Linked DNA regions of Homo sapiens: region 2 is linked to region 1. Evidence: promoter capture Hi-C in human tissues and cell types (Jung and others, 2019). All regions are on one chromosome and are shown on one strand. The core of a region is centred on a gene start or on the middle of the fragment in contact, and the rest is flanking DNA. Distances in the headings are between cores, read along the strand shown. Region 1 overlaps LRRC4B (leucine rich repeat containing 4B). Region 2 holds the start of SPIB (Spi-B transcription factor).

Region 1 (5,738 bases), core at 1,640-4,139:
ATCGGCCGGGCGCAGTGGCTCACGCCCGTCATCGCAGCACTTTGGGAGGGCAAGGCGAGTAGATCACTTGAGGTCAGGAGTTCAAGACCAACCTGGCTAGCATGGCGAAATGCTGTCTCTACTAAAAATACAAAAATTAGCTGGGCGTGGTGGTGCACACCTGTAATCCCAGCTTCTCGGGAGGCTGAGGCAGGAGAATTGCTTAAACCCAGAAGGCAGAGGTTGCAGTGAGCTGAGATCGCACCACTGCAGTCCAGCCTGGGCGACAGAGTGAAATTCCATCTAAAAAAAAGAAAGAAGAAATCAAGCACAGACATAGTGACTCACACCTGTAATCCCGGCACTTTGGGAGGCTGAGGCAAGAGGATTGCTCAAGGCCAGGAGTTTGAGACCAGGCTGGGCAACACAGCAAGACCCCATCTCTACAAAATTTTAAACTTAGCAAGGCATGGTGGTGTGTGCCTTTAGTCCCAGCTACTTGGGAGGCTGAGGTGGGAGAATCACTGGGACCCAGGAGGTTGAGGCTGCAGTGAGTTATGATCACAGCACTGCACTTCAGCCAGAGTGACAGAGGGAGACCCTGTCAGAAAGAAAGAGAGAGAGAGAGGGCCAGGCACGGTGGCTCACGCCTGTAATCCCAGCACTTTGGGAGGCCGAGGCAGGCAGATCACGAGGTCAGGAGATCGAGACCATCCTGGCTAACACGGTGAAACCCCGTCTCTACTAAAAATACAAAAAATTAGCCGGGTGTGGTGGTGCGTGCCTGTAGTCCCAGCTACTCCAGAGGCTGAGGCAGGAAAATCATTTGAACCCAGAAGGCGGAGCTTGCAGTGAGCTGAGATCGTGCCACCGCACTCCAGCCTGGGCAACAGAGCGAGACTCAAAAAAAAAAAAGAAAAAAAGAAAAGAAAGAGAGAAAGAGGGAGGGAGGGAGGGAGGGAAAGAGACAGAGAGAAAGGAGAAAGAAAAGGAAAGATCACCCTGTCAATTACAGATCAATGTCCATACGTAGGTATAGCCGTGGGCCAGTACTCTAGAGGGCCGTTCATATCATGTCTTTGAAGCACTATTCATGATGTAAGAAAATACTCACAATGTTATTAAGGGGAAATGCAGGACCCAGGCAAGTATATTGTATCATCAAAATTTTGTAAAAAAGCAAGCCACAATGAATGGCTCATGCCTGTAATCCCAGCACTTTGGGACACTGAGGCGGGTGGATCATTTGAGGTCAGAAATTCGAGACCACCTGGCCAACATGGTGAAACCCCCTCTCTACTAAAAAAAAAAAAAAAAAAAGAAAAAAGAAAGAAAACAGCCGGGCGTGGTGGCTCATGCCTGTAATCCCAGCACTTTGGGAGGCTGAGGCGGGCAGATCACGAGGTCAGGAGATCGAGACCGTCCTGGCTAACACAGTGAAACCCCATCTCTACTAAAAATGCAGAAAATTAGCTGGGAGTGGTGGCGGGTGCCTGTAGTCCCAGCTACTCGGGAGGCTGAGGCAGGAGAATGGCGTGAACCCAGGAGGCGGAGCTTGCAGTAAGCCGGGATTGTGCCACTGCACTCCAGCCTGGGTGACAGAGCGAGACTCTGTCTCAAAAAAAAAAAAAATACAAAAATACAAAAATTAGCCGGGCGTAGTGGCGTGTGCCTGTAATCCCAGCTACTCATGAGGCTGAGGCAAGAGAATTGCATGAACCCGGGAGCCAGAGGTTGTAGTAAGCCAAGATTGTGCCACTGCACTCCATCCTGGGCAACAGAGTGAGACTCTATCTCAAAAAAAAAAAAAAAGTAAAAGATAATGAAAAAATATATCCCTGCATAATATGCATAGAAAAAATTGGAAGGATGTGCCAAATGATTAACATAAATTAGCTCTGGGTAGATGTATTTTGGCCAATTTTTATTTTCTTCTCATACATTTTTTCCTAAATGAGTATATATTACTTTTTAACAATTTTTTTAATTTTAGAAACACGGTTTCACCTTATTGCCTAGGCTAGTCTGGAACTCCTGACCTCAAGTCATCTGCCTGCCTCGGCCTCCCAAAGTGCTGGGATTACAGGCGTAAGCCACTGCGCCTATCCTTCGTCTATCCTTTTCACTCTGAGGCGGTGGAGTCCTTCATTGCGCAAGACGCCCTGTGGTTGGGACCCAGTCCCTGCCCTCCCTGGAGGCACCTGGACTCTGGGCTCCAGGGAACCCAGCCCCGGGGATCCCTGACCAGACTGGGGTGGGGAGACGGGACCAGGACATCCTCCTGTGTAAGTGACCCTGGAACTAGGTGTTGAAGGACAGATGCAGGGAGGTATCCAGGAAAAAAGCAGGAAAGGTGCAAAGGCCAGAGGCAAGAGTGTGTCTGCTGGGCTCAGGGACTTGCCAGAACAGGAGGTGGGGGAAACAAGTAGAGGAGGAAGGAGAAGGTGGTGCCAGGCGGATGAGCTGCTCCAGGGCAGAGACTGTGTCTTATGGGCTCTCACTGTCATTGTCGCCTTGGTGGCAGCACAGCGGGGCATGGGAGAGTCTTATGCTGGGACTGACGGGCAGTCCTGGGAGGATTGTGAAGGGCCCAGGGGAGGGACAGGGGATCTGTGGGTATAAACAGACTTCTATTTTATTTTATTTTTGAGACTGAGTTTCTCTCTTGTTACCCAGGCTGGAGTACAATGGCGTTATCTCGGCTCACCGCAACCTCGCCTCCTGGGTTCAAACGATTCTGCCGCCTCAGCCTCCCAAATAGCTGGGATTACAGGCATGCGCCCTGCCTAAACAGACCTTTCTAGGGCCTGGTGGGAGAGGCAGAGGGCTGAGGTGCAGCTGGGGCCATTGGCATGGAGAGGAGAGGCTGGAACAGGGAGTCGGAGGACAGGGGGCCAGGATGGGGGCGGCCCTGATTTTCTGCGGGAAAGGATGCAGTCAGACAGTTCTTGCCGGGGAGGGTGGCTCACGTGTGTAATCCCGGCACTTTGGGAGGCCGAGTTGGGCAGATCACCTGAGGTCAGGAGTTCAAGACCAGCCTGGCCAACATGATAAAACCCTCGTCTCTACTAAAAAAAAAAAAAAAAAATACAAAAATTAGCCGGGTGTGGTGGAGGACGCCTGTAATCCTAGCTACTTGGGAGGCTGAGGCAGGAGAATCACTTGAACCCGGGAGGTGGAGGTTGCAGTGAGCCAAGATTACGCCATTGCACTCCAGCCTAGGCAACAAGAGCAAAACTCCCTCTCAAAAAAAAAAAAAAAAGTACGGTTCTTGGCCCTAAGAGCCGCCTTTCAGTGGACGGCTCAGGGCTGTAATCCCAAGGGCATGGTACAAGTTTCTCAACGCCAACGATAACGATAACAATGAGAATGACGACGTGCTGAGCACCCCTGAACACTGGGACCTCATCTCCTCTCCCTCACCCTCTGAAGTGCTTTTCATCATCCTCCTCGTGGTAAGAGTGAGCCCAGAGGTACAGAGAGCTCAAGTGACAGGCCCTACAACCAGGACGGGGGAGGCGGGATTTGAACAGGGCTCTGCTCTTCACACTACACCCGTGACCTCTGTTTCCGTGTCTGTCCACGGGGAACGGCGATGGGTGGGTGTGAGGTGGCCGAGCGAGACGGGGAGGGGCGCAGGCTCCGGCCAGCCCTGCCCAGCTCTGCCATGGAGCAAGCCACTTCTTTAGGCTCCTGTTTCCTCCTTTCTAAAACGGGGCGATCACAGTCCTTGTTCTTAGGGCTGCTGGATGGACAAAAGGTGACTGTGTCCACAGAGCGTCCCTGGGCACCGAGTAAACCCGCAGCATCTCACAGGGCAGCCGCCAGCATCGGGGCTGCTGGCTGGGCTCGGGGACTGCATGCGTTGCTACTGAGAGGTGCCCTGGACGCCCTGGGTGTAAAACACATGTTGGGTTTCCTTGGATTTCGAAGCTCCACCATAAAGAGTGTAAAATGGCTCAATCGCAAGTTTGCATCTGATGACAGGTTCAAATGAGAGTATTTTGGACCTGTTGAGCTAAATAAATATATTAGTAAAGTTGATTTCACCTGTTTGGTTTTTTCTTTATTATTATTTCAATGTGGCTTCTAGGAAATTTAAAATTACACATGTGGGCTGGGTGTGGTGGCTCACACCTATAATCCCAGCACTTTGGGAGGCTGAGACGGGAGGATCGCTTGAGGCCAGGAGTTTGAGACCAGCCTGGGCAACATAGGGAGACCCCATCTCTACAAAAAATTAAAATAAAATAAAATTAGCCAGGTGTGCTGGCACGTGCCTGTAGTCCCAGCTACTCAGGAGGCTGAGGCGAGCAGATCACTTGAGCCCAGACGGTCAAGGCTGCAGTGAGCCGAGACTGCGCCACTGCACTCCAGCCTGGGTGACACAGCAAGACTCTGTCTTAAAACAAAACAACCAAACAAACATTACACACGTGTTCACATTCTATTTCTATTGGACAGCACCGACATACATTATTATTATTTTATGATTCTGCCTATGCCACAGATTCTACCATTTCTTACGCTGTTTGCCTCTCAGGTATATCTGGGTTTGGTTTTGTTTTTATTCCTGCTTACTGTAAAAGTAATTTTTCCTCATTGAGGAAAAAATATCACACAAGAATAAAAATTGTCCATAATTCCCAACAGATAAAGTTCACTACTAAGAAAAGCTTGGAGTATGTCCTTCCAGTTTTTTTTTTTTTTTAGACAGAGTCTCACTCTGTCACCCAGGCTGGAGTGCAACTGGGCGATCTTGGCTCACTGCAACCTCCGCCTCCCGGGTTCAAGAGATTCTCCTGCCTCAGCCTCCCAAGTAGCTGGGATTACAGGCACCTGCCACCATGCCTGACTAATTTTTTGTATTTTTAGTAGAGATGGGGTTTCGCCATGTTGGCCAAGCTGGTCTCGAAATCCTGACCCAGGTGATCCACCTGCCTTGGCCTCTCAGAGTGCTAGGATTACAGGCATGAGCCACCATGCCCGGCCTCTTTTTTGTTTTTAAGATGGAGTCTCACTGTGTTGCCCAGGCCAGAGTGCAGTGGCGCGATCTCGGCTCACTGCAACCTCCGCCTCCCTCTTGCCTCAGTCTCCCGAGTAACTGGGATTACAGGCACCCCCCACCACCCCCGGCTAATTTTTGTATTTTTAGCAGAGACGGAGTTTTATCATGTTGGCCAGGCTGGTCTCAAACTCCCAACCTCAACTGATCTGCCCGCCTCGGCCTACCTAAGTGCTGGGATTACAGGTGTGAGCCACCACGCCCGGCCTCTTTTTCTCTTTTTTCTTTTGGTGCATATACTCTGATACCTAATTCTTCAGCTTCTTTGTGATGACACAGGATGCATCTGAGGTTCTCAGTTTCCTCCGTTAATACTGTAACACCGCATTCCCCCAGTGTCCGTCCCCTTCTCCCTGGCACACACCACTATCTGGGCTTTGCAGATATGATCCAATGGCTGTGTGGCCTTCTGGGCCTCAGTGCACCCGGCGTGGTCATCAGTAGTGAGGACCCTGTGAGCTCCTGCCTCCCGTGCTCTGACCCAGCACTGCCCCTCCCGTGGACCCCAGCTCCAGCCCTGAGAGGCGGCAGCCAGGGTCAGAGGTCAAGAGCCAGGACTCTGGAACCAGAGGGCCTGGATCCAGTCCCAACTCTGCTGTCCACTTCTGTGTGACCTTGGGCAAGTCACTGCACCTCCCTGGGCCTAATTCATCATCCTTCGTGTGAAACTCTTGAGGTCTGATGCGTTTTGACA
Region 2 (6,028 bases), core at 2,675-5,174, 110 kb after region 1:
CTGGGACAGGTGGGGCCACAGTCCAGTCCCACAGGGAGTCTGGGGGAAGGGCACTGAGTCAGAAGCTGGGATGTCTCACGGAGGCCTCCTCGCAGTCGAAGCCCCCAGCACAGAGAGGCCATTGTAGGCTGTGCAAATCTCTGACCCCAGGATTTGCATGGAGGAGCGGATGGGTAGGAGAGGAAAGGGGAGGAGGGCTATAGGCCCGGGCCACCTTTATCCTGTTGTGCTAGGAAATGACCTCCCCTGGGCCTCAGCTCCCCTATCTGTGAAATGGGCCCCAAGGCAGGAAGGGCACAGGGCTGGGGTCACTCACCAGGAGCCCCCTCTGAATCAGGGTAGCTGGAATGCTTGCAGCTGTCCAGGTCATAGAAGACGCCATCTGGGTACTGATACGGGGTGCAGGAGGGAAGAGGGGTCATCCCAGGCCTTGGGGACTCCCAACCCCCACCCTGGACCCTTGGGGAGACTCCAACACAGACATGGGAGAGAAGAGGGGATGCTGGAGAGATTAGAGCAACAAAGAAACACAGAGACTAGGCATCAGAGACAGGGACAAAGAGACAGAGATACAGAGAGTAGAGACACAACCCAATAGGGGCACACAGCAGCCAGCTCCTGCTAAGACGGTGGGCTCCCAAGAACCCTGGCCCCTCACTGGCACACAGTCAGCGAATCAGGGCGCCTGGAGAAGGGGTGGAAGAACTCCCCCAGCCTTGCCTGCCTGGGGGCTCCGGAGGTGAAGGGCAAGGGGAAATGGAAGTGTTTCACTTAACAGAGGCAGGGGTCAATGCTTTTTAAATACACCTCCAGGCCAGGCGTGGTGGCTCACGCCTGTCATCCCAACACTTTGGGGGGCCGAGGCGGGCAGATCACCTGAGGTCAGGAGTTCAAGACCAGTCTAGCCAACATGGTGAAATCCCGTCTCTACTAAAAATACAAAAATTAGCTAGGCGTGGTGGCGCACGCCTGTAATCCTAGCACTTTGGGAGGCTGAGGCCAGTGAATCACCTGAGGTCAGGAGTTCGAGACCAGCCTGCACAACATGGGGAAACCCCATCTCTACTGAAAATACAAAAATTAGCTGGGCCTGGTGGCAGATGTCTGTAATCCCAGCTACTCTGGAGGCCGAGGCAGGAGAATCGCTTGAACCTGGGAGGTGGAGGTTGCAGTGAGCTGAGATCGCGCCACTGCACTCCAGCCTGGGTGACAGAGTGAGACTCTGTCTCGAAAAATAAATAGGCCGGGCATGGTGGCTCATGCCTGTAATCCCAGCACTTTGGAAGGCCAAGGCAGGCAGATCATGAGGTCAGGAGATCGATACCAGCCTGGCCAACATGGTGAAACCCCGTCTCTACTAAAAATACAAAAATTAGCCAGGCATGGTGGTGCGCACCTGTAGTCCCAGCTACTTGGGAGGCTGAGGCAGGAGAATCGCTTGAACCCAGGAGGCTGAGGTTGCAGTGAGCCGAGATCGCACCACTGTACTCCAGCCCGGCGACAGAGCAAAACTCTGTCTCAATAAATAAATAAATAAATAAATCTCCATATGTTGATTCGCCCCATGAATCATGTGTTGTTGCTTCAAGAACTCGAGTCTAGGAAAAACTAAAGCTAGATCCACACCATGCCTAGGACCTGGCAGTCTCACTCCTTGGCATTTAATCAAGAGAACTGAAAATGGATGTGCACAAAATAGCCTTGTTCCAGAATCATCCCAGCAGCTTTATTATGAGTCTCCAACTGGAAACAGCCCAGGTGTCATCAACAGAAGAAGGGATAAACAGACTGTGGTGTGGGCTGATCATAGATAGAGTACTATACAGCAAGGAAAAAGGACAAACACTGACACACACTTCATGTTGAGTGAGGGAAGCCAGACCCCAAAAGGGACATGCTGTATGACTCACTTTACATAAAGTTCAAAAGCAGGCAGCTGGGTGCGGTGGCTCACGCCTGTAATCCCAGCAATTTGGGAGGCTGAGGTGGGAGGATCACTTGAGCTCAGGAGTTTGAAACCAGCCCGGATAACATGGTGAAACCCTGCCTCTACTAAAAATACAAAAATTAGCTGGGCATGGTGGCACATGCCTGTAATCCCAGCTACTTGGGAGGCTGAGGCAGGAGAATTGCTTGAACCCGGGAGGTGGAGCTTGCAGTGAGCCAAGACGCTGCCACTGCACTCCAGCCTGGGTGACAGAGCGAGACTCCTTCTCAAAAAGCAAAACAAAAAAAAGAGCAGGCAAAACAAATTACAAATTGGTGGCGGAAAATATCAGAGAAAGGTATTGACTGAGAAGGGACAGGAAGGAATATTTCAGAGATTGAAATGTTCGGTATCTTGATCTGGCTTGTGGCTACACGGTGTATAGATAATGCAAAAACACAAGATTTGTCACTTTACTGACTTGTTAGTTACACTTCAATTAAAAAACAAACAAACAAAAACAAACAAAAAAAACATGGCTGGGGTGTGAATGTGGAGGGGCATAAACAGGGGCTTTCTTTCAACCACATCAGTAAGATTTGATTACTCAGACTGGATTGTGGGTTCAAGGGTGTTGGGTATAGTATTCCGTATCTGAACTGTTAGAGAACACAATTTTTAAAAATACGAACAAAAAGAAGGAAAGGAACATGAAAATACATTGTCTGAATATGGGATGGGCAGAGAGAGATACAAAGCCACAAGGAAGTGGATTCAAGCCTGAGAGGGGGAGAGAGACATCAAAAATACGGATGCGGGGTAGCAGGAGATACCAAGGGGGAGCTCAGAAACAAAGTGACAGGAAGAGGTGGGAGGGGAAACTGAGGCAGGAAGCAAATGACTTCTCTGAGGGAGGTCACTGTGGGCCACCCCTCCCTGGCCCCCAGGGGCCCCAACTCACCAGACAGCTGAAGTGTGGCCCGTCGAGCCTGGAGGGGGAGAGACACAGGGGCATGCTGAGGCTGCCTCCAGCCACCTGAATCTCAAAGTGGTTGGGGGCTGATGGGGAGGCGGCAGCAGCTGTGACCACCGCAGCCCTGTGTGAGGGACCAGCCCCACCACATTCACCGGACTCCCCCACTACCCCCTGCTGGGACAGGAAGTGGGGGGTGGGGGGGAGGCAAATGTCCCCCTCCTCCCCAGAATTTGCATAGACACCCTGGTGGGGAGGGGCAGGGAAAGTGAGGGAGAGAAAGTCCCGGAAAGGAGGTGTGGGGATGGAGAGGGGGCCTGGGTCAAGTGCGGCCTTGGTGGCGAGTCAGTTGAGTCCAGCTTGGACCAGAGGAGAAGGATGGAGAGATGTCTGGGTAGAGAGGGGGAAGCCCGGAGAAGACTCAGATGAGGAGGCTCAAGGAGAGGTGGGACACAGAGAAAGGTGTGCAAAGGGACATTCACGCACAGAGGCGGGGAGGATTCCTGGAGCCCCAGATGGAGGCACTGAGAGTGAGGGTGAGGCAGAAGGAGACCAAAAGGCAGGGAGAGCGAGAACTGGAGACAGAGACACAGAGACAGGCAGAGAGACAGAGAGCAACAGGCAGAATGTTGAGAGCTGGGAGATGCCAGATACAGAGCGAACAGATACGGGAACTCGGGGAGACAGGAGGATGGACAGAGTGAGAGCCACGGAGGACGCCCGCAGGAGGGCACGCTAGCAAGTGTTCTGGGGAAATGAGATCTTTGGGGACCAGGAAAGATAGGAACTGGGGGGATGGAGAGTCCGAAGTGAAGAGGGAACAGAACCAGAAGGGGCAAGAGACAGGGTGGACCCCTCCCCTCCACTCCCACCCACCGGCCGTGAGGAGCAGAGAAACCACTGCCCATGGGTGAGGCCCCACAGAGGGGCAGTGCAGGTGGGGACCCCGGGTGCAGGTTTGGGGGCCCTCACTTACTGTGCAGCCTCCAGGGCGAGCATGGTGGTGCCGGGCGGGCTGTTTGCCGCCCGCTGCAGCCGCCAACCCTATTTATATCTTGGCCCAGCCCCTGCCGGGGGGAGGAGGGTGCCCGCTGGCCACAAGCTCGGCCCTCCTCAAAAATCCCCTCAGGGAGGGGGTCAGGGGAGGGGGCTGGATTGCACAACCCCTTTGTCACATGGCAGGGATGGCGGGCCAGGGGCTGTCTGGATTTGGGGATCCCCGTGGGGCTGGGTTTGGGGGGCTGACCTTGAGGGCTGGAGATGGGACAGGAGCTGGATTTGGGGGAACCCTGAAAACATCGAGGAAGGGCTGGGGTTCACTGAAGAGGAGAATCAGGAAACGGAGGATCTGGACCCAGGAGCCGAATTCCAGCAGGGGCGGGCTGGGGGCCGAGGGGCAAGCACAAGACTCTCCCCGGGGGATGTGTGAGGTGACGGGAGGGCCGAGGGCATCTGACGGCAGTTAGAGGCTGCGGGGATAGAGATGGGAGTCGCTGGGGGGAAACCCAGACCCAAAGCCCATTGCCAGGACCCCGACGTGGAAACATCGTGGGTGTGTGGTCCGGCGGGGGATGGGGGGGTCCCCTTGGCCGGGCTGAGGAGTGGAAGCCCCGGTGCGCCTGGGGCTGCCCCAGGGCCTGGAGGAAACAGGTCAGCACCTGGAGGGCGGGGCAGCCACCAGGGTCCCCAGGGTCATCACCAGGGAGGGCTGGGCCGGGGCCAGACACCTGGGGGCCCTAAGCAGGGCAGAGAAGCGCTGGTATAAGGGTTCCTTCAGGGCCAGAGAGGAAACTGAGGCAGGCTTGGCCCACATGAACCAGGCAGCACAGGTGGGAGTCCGGGGGCTTTTGCTGAGGATGAGGGGCGGTGCGGGCCTCAGGAGGGTCCCAGCCAAGGCCAGGGCTTATGAAACCAGACAGTGTCCCCCAGAGACCACAAAGCACCATATAGCAAAAGTCCAGAACTTTATTAATTCTCCCTGGTCCCGCCCCCGCCCCATGGGATGCTTGCAAGGTCACCAGGCCTCAGGTCCAGGGGGTCCGAAGCGCCGCAGGAGCTGCTCCTGGTCTTCCAGGTCCTTCCGCACCTTCTTGCGCATGTAGAAGATGGGGCAGTCCCGGCTGCGGGTGGGGGCAGGGGCAGGGTCAGGACCAGCCAAGGCCCAGTGCCCAGCCTGGGAGAGGGGTGGGGGCTGTTCCCAGGACTTTGGTCCCCGCCTGCTGCCCAGCCCACCCGCCCCCTCCCGCAGCGGGCTGTTTGCTCAGCAGGCACGGGGGGGGTGGGGGGGGGGAGCCGATAACAGCGGGTGCCTGGCGAGGTGCAGGGCCATGGCTGGCCGTATATCACCTGTCACCTGGCGTGGGAACCCACCCCGCCTACCCGTTCCCTGGGGAAAGCCCGGCCCCGCCCTGGGGAGGGGGCCAGGCTGGCTGGGTGTGTCGGGAGGACAGCCGTTTCCCGGGCAACACTGGGTGCCGGGCGCTGCCTCCCTAAGCACCCACCCCCTCTGGGGGGCTGGGATGGGCCCATTTTTCAGACAAGGACACTGAGGCTCAGGACAGCTCACAGCTGGAAGGGGATGGGCGGGGAGGATGCTCAGGAGAGGCCTTGGAGTCAGAGGTTGGGTCCACAACCCACAGGCCTGGGAGCTGGGAAGGGGCGGGGCAGCCCAGGGTCGGGACATGGCACACACCTGGTGCAGATGACGTCCTCGTGCAGGCTGCCCTGGCAGCGCTGGCACTGCGTCCAGAGGCGCGAGAAGCGCTCCTCCAGGGCATTCAGATGGGATACCTGGGGACGGCAGCGGCTGAGCAGGGCGCCCCCGCCTCCCCACCTGGCCCCTCCTCACCTCCCGGCCCTCTCACCTCCTTCTGATACAGCTCAGACTCCCGGGGCTGGCAGAACTCACACACGGCTCCTGTGGGGAGGCGGGTCAGCCCAAGTGCTGGGGCCCAGCCAGGAACTGGGCCACCCCATCCCTGCCCACTGCCAATCCCAGCTTCTGAAAGTCCCCAGAGGCTGGAGAACAACGGAGCAAGTGTGCTGGGAAAACTCCCCTGGGGAACTCCCGGGGTGGGGGCCGAGGACCCTCTGTGGGGGGTGGAGACAGGGGCCACCCACCCAGGGGC

Evidence for each region. Contacts are between HindIII fragments. The study calls those that stand out against the background at their distance.
Region 2: the fragment with the promoter of SPIB here is called in contact with a fragment that was not itself captured in region 1 in 3 of the 25 tissues and cell types used here (H1 embryonic stem cells, lymphoblastoid cells and spleen).

Annotation. Positions count from the first base shown.
Region 1 is chr19:50,522,910-50,528,647 of GRCh38, reverse strand. All of the region lies in intron 2 of LRRC4B (leucine rich repeat containing 4B), which reads left to right. The region is part of intron 1 of LOC124904747 (a long non-coding RNA gene); the gene reads right to left. Among named protein-coding and RNA genes, the nearest start is that of ASPDH, 12 kb to the right of the region's middle. The HindIII fragment of the contact is 7,994 bases long and covers 1-5,738 here.
Region 2 is chr19:50,416,834-50,422,861 of GRCh38, reverse strand. SPIB (Spi-B transcription factor) reads right to left here and starts at 3,924. Exons shown (of 6, transcript NM_003121.5): 1 at 3,877-3,924; 2 at 2,889-2,916; 3 at 317-389; 4 at 1-39. The coding sequence starts at 3,899. POLD1 (DNA polymerase delta 1, catalytic subunit) reads right to left here. Exons shown (of 27, transcript NM_002691.4): 25 at 5,765-5,817; 26 at 5,593-5,690; 27 at 4,848-5,020. The coding sequence ends at 4,915. RefSeq lists an enhancer at 3,028-3,077 and silencers at 4,617-4,785, 5,068-5,127, 5,158-5,297. The HindIII fragment of the contact is 45,060 bases long and covers 1-6,028 here.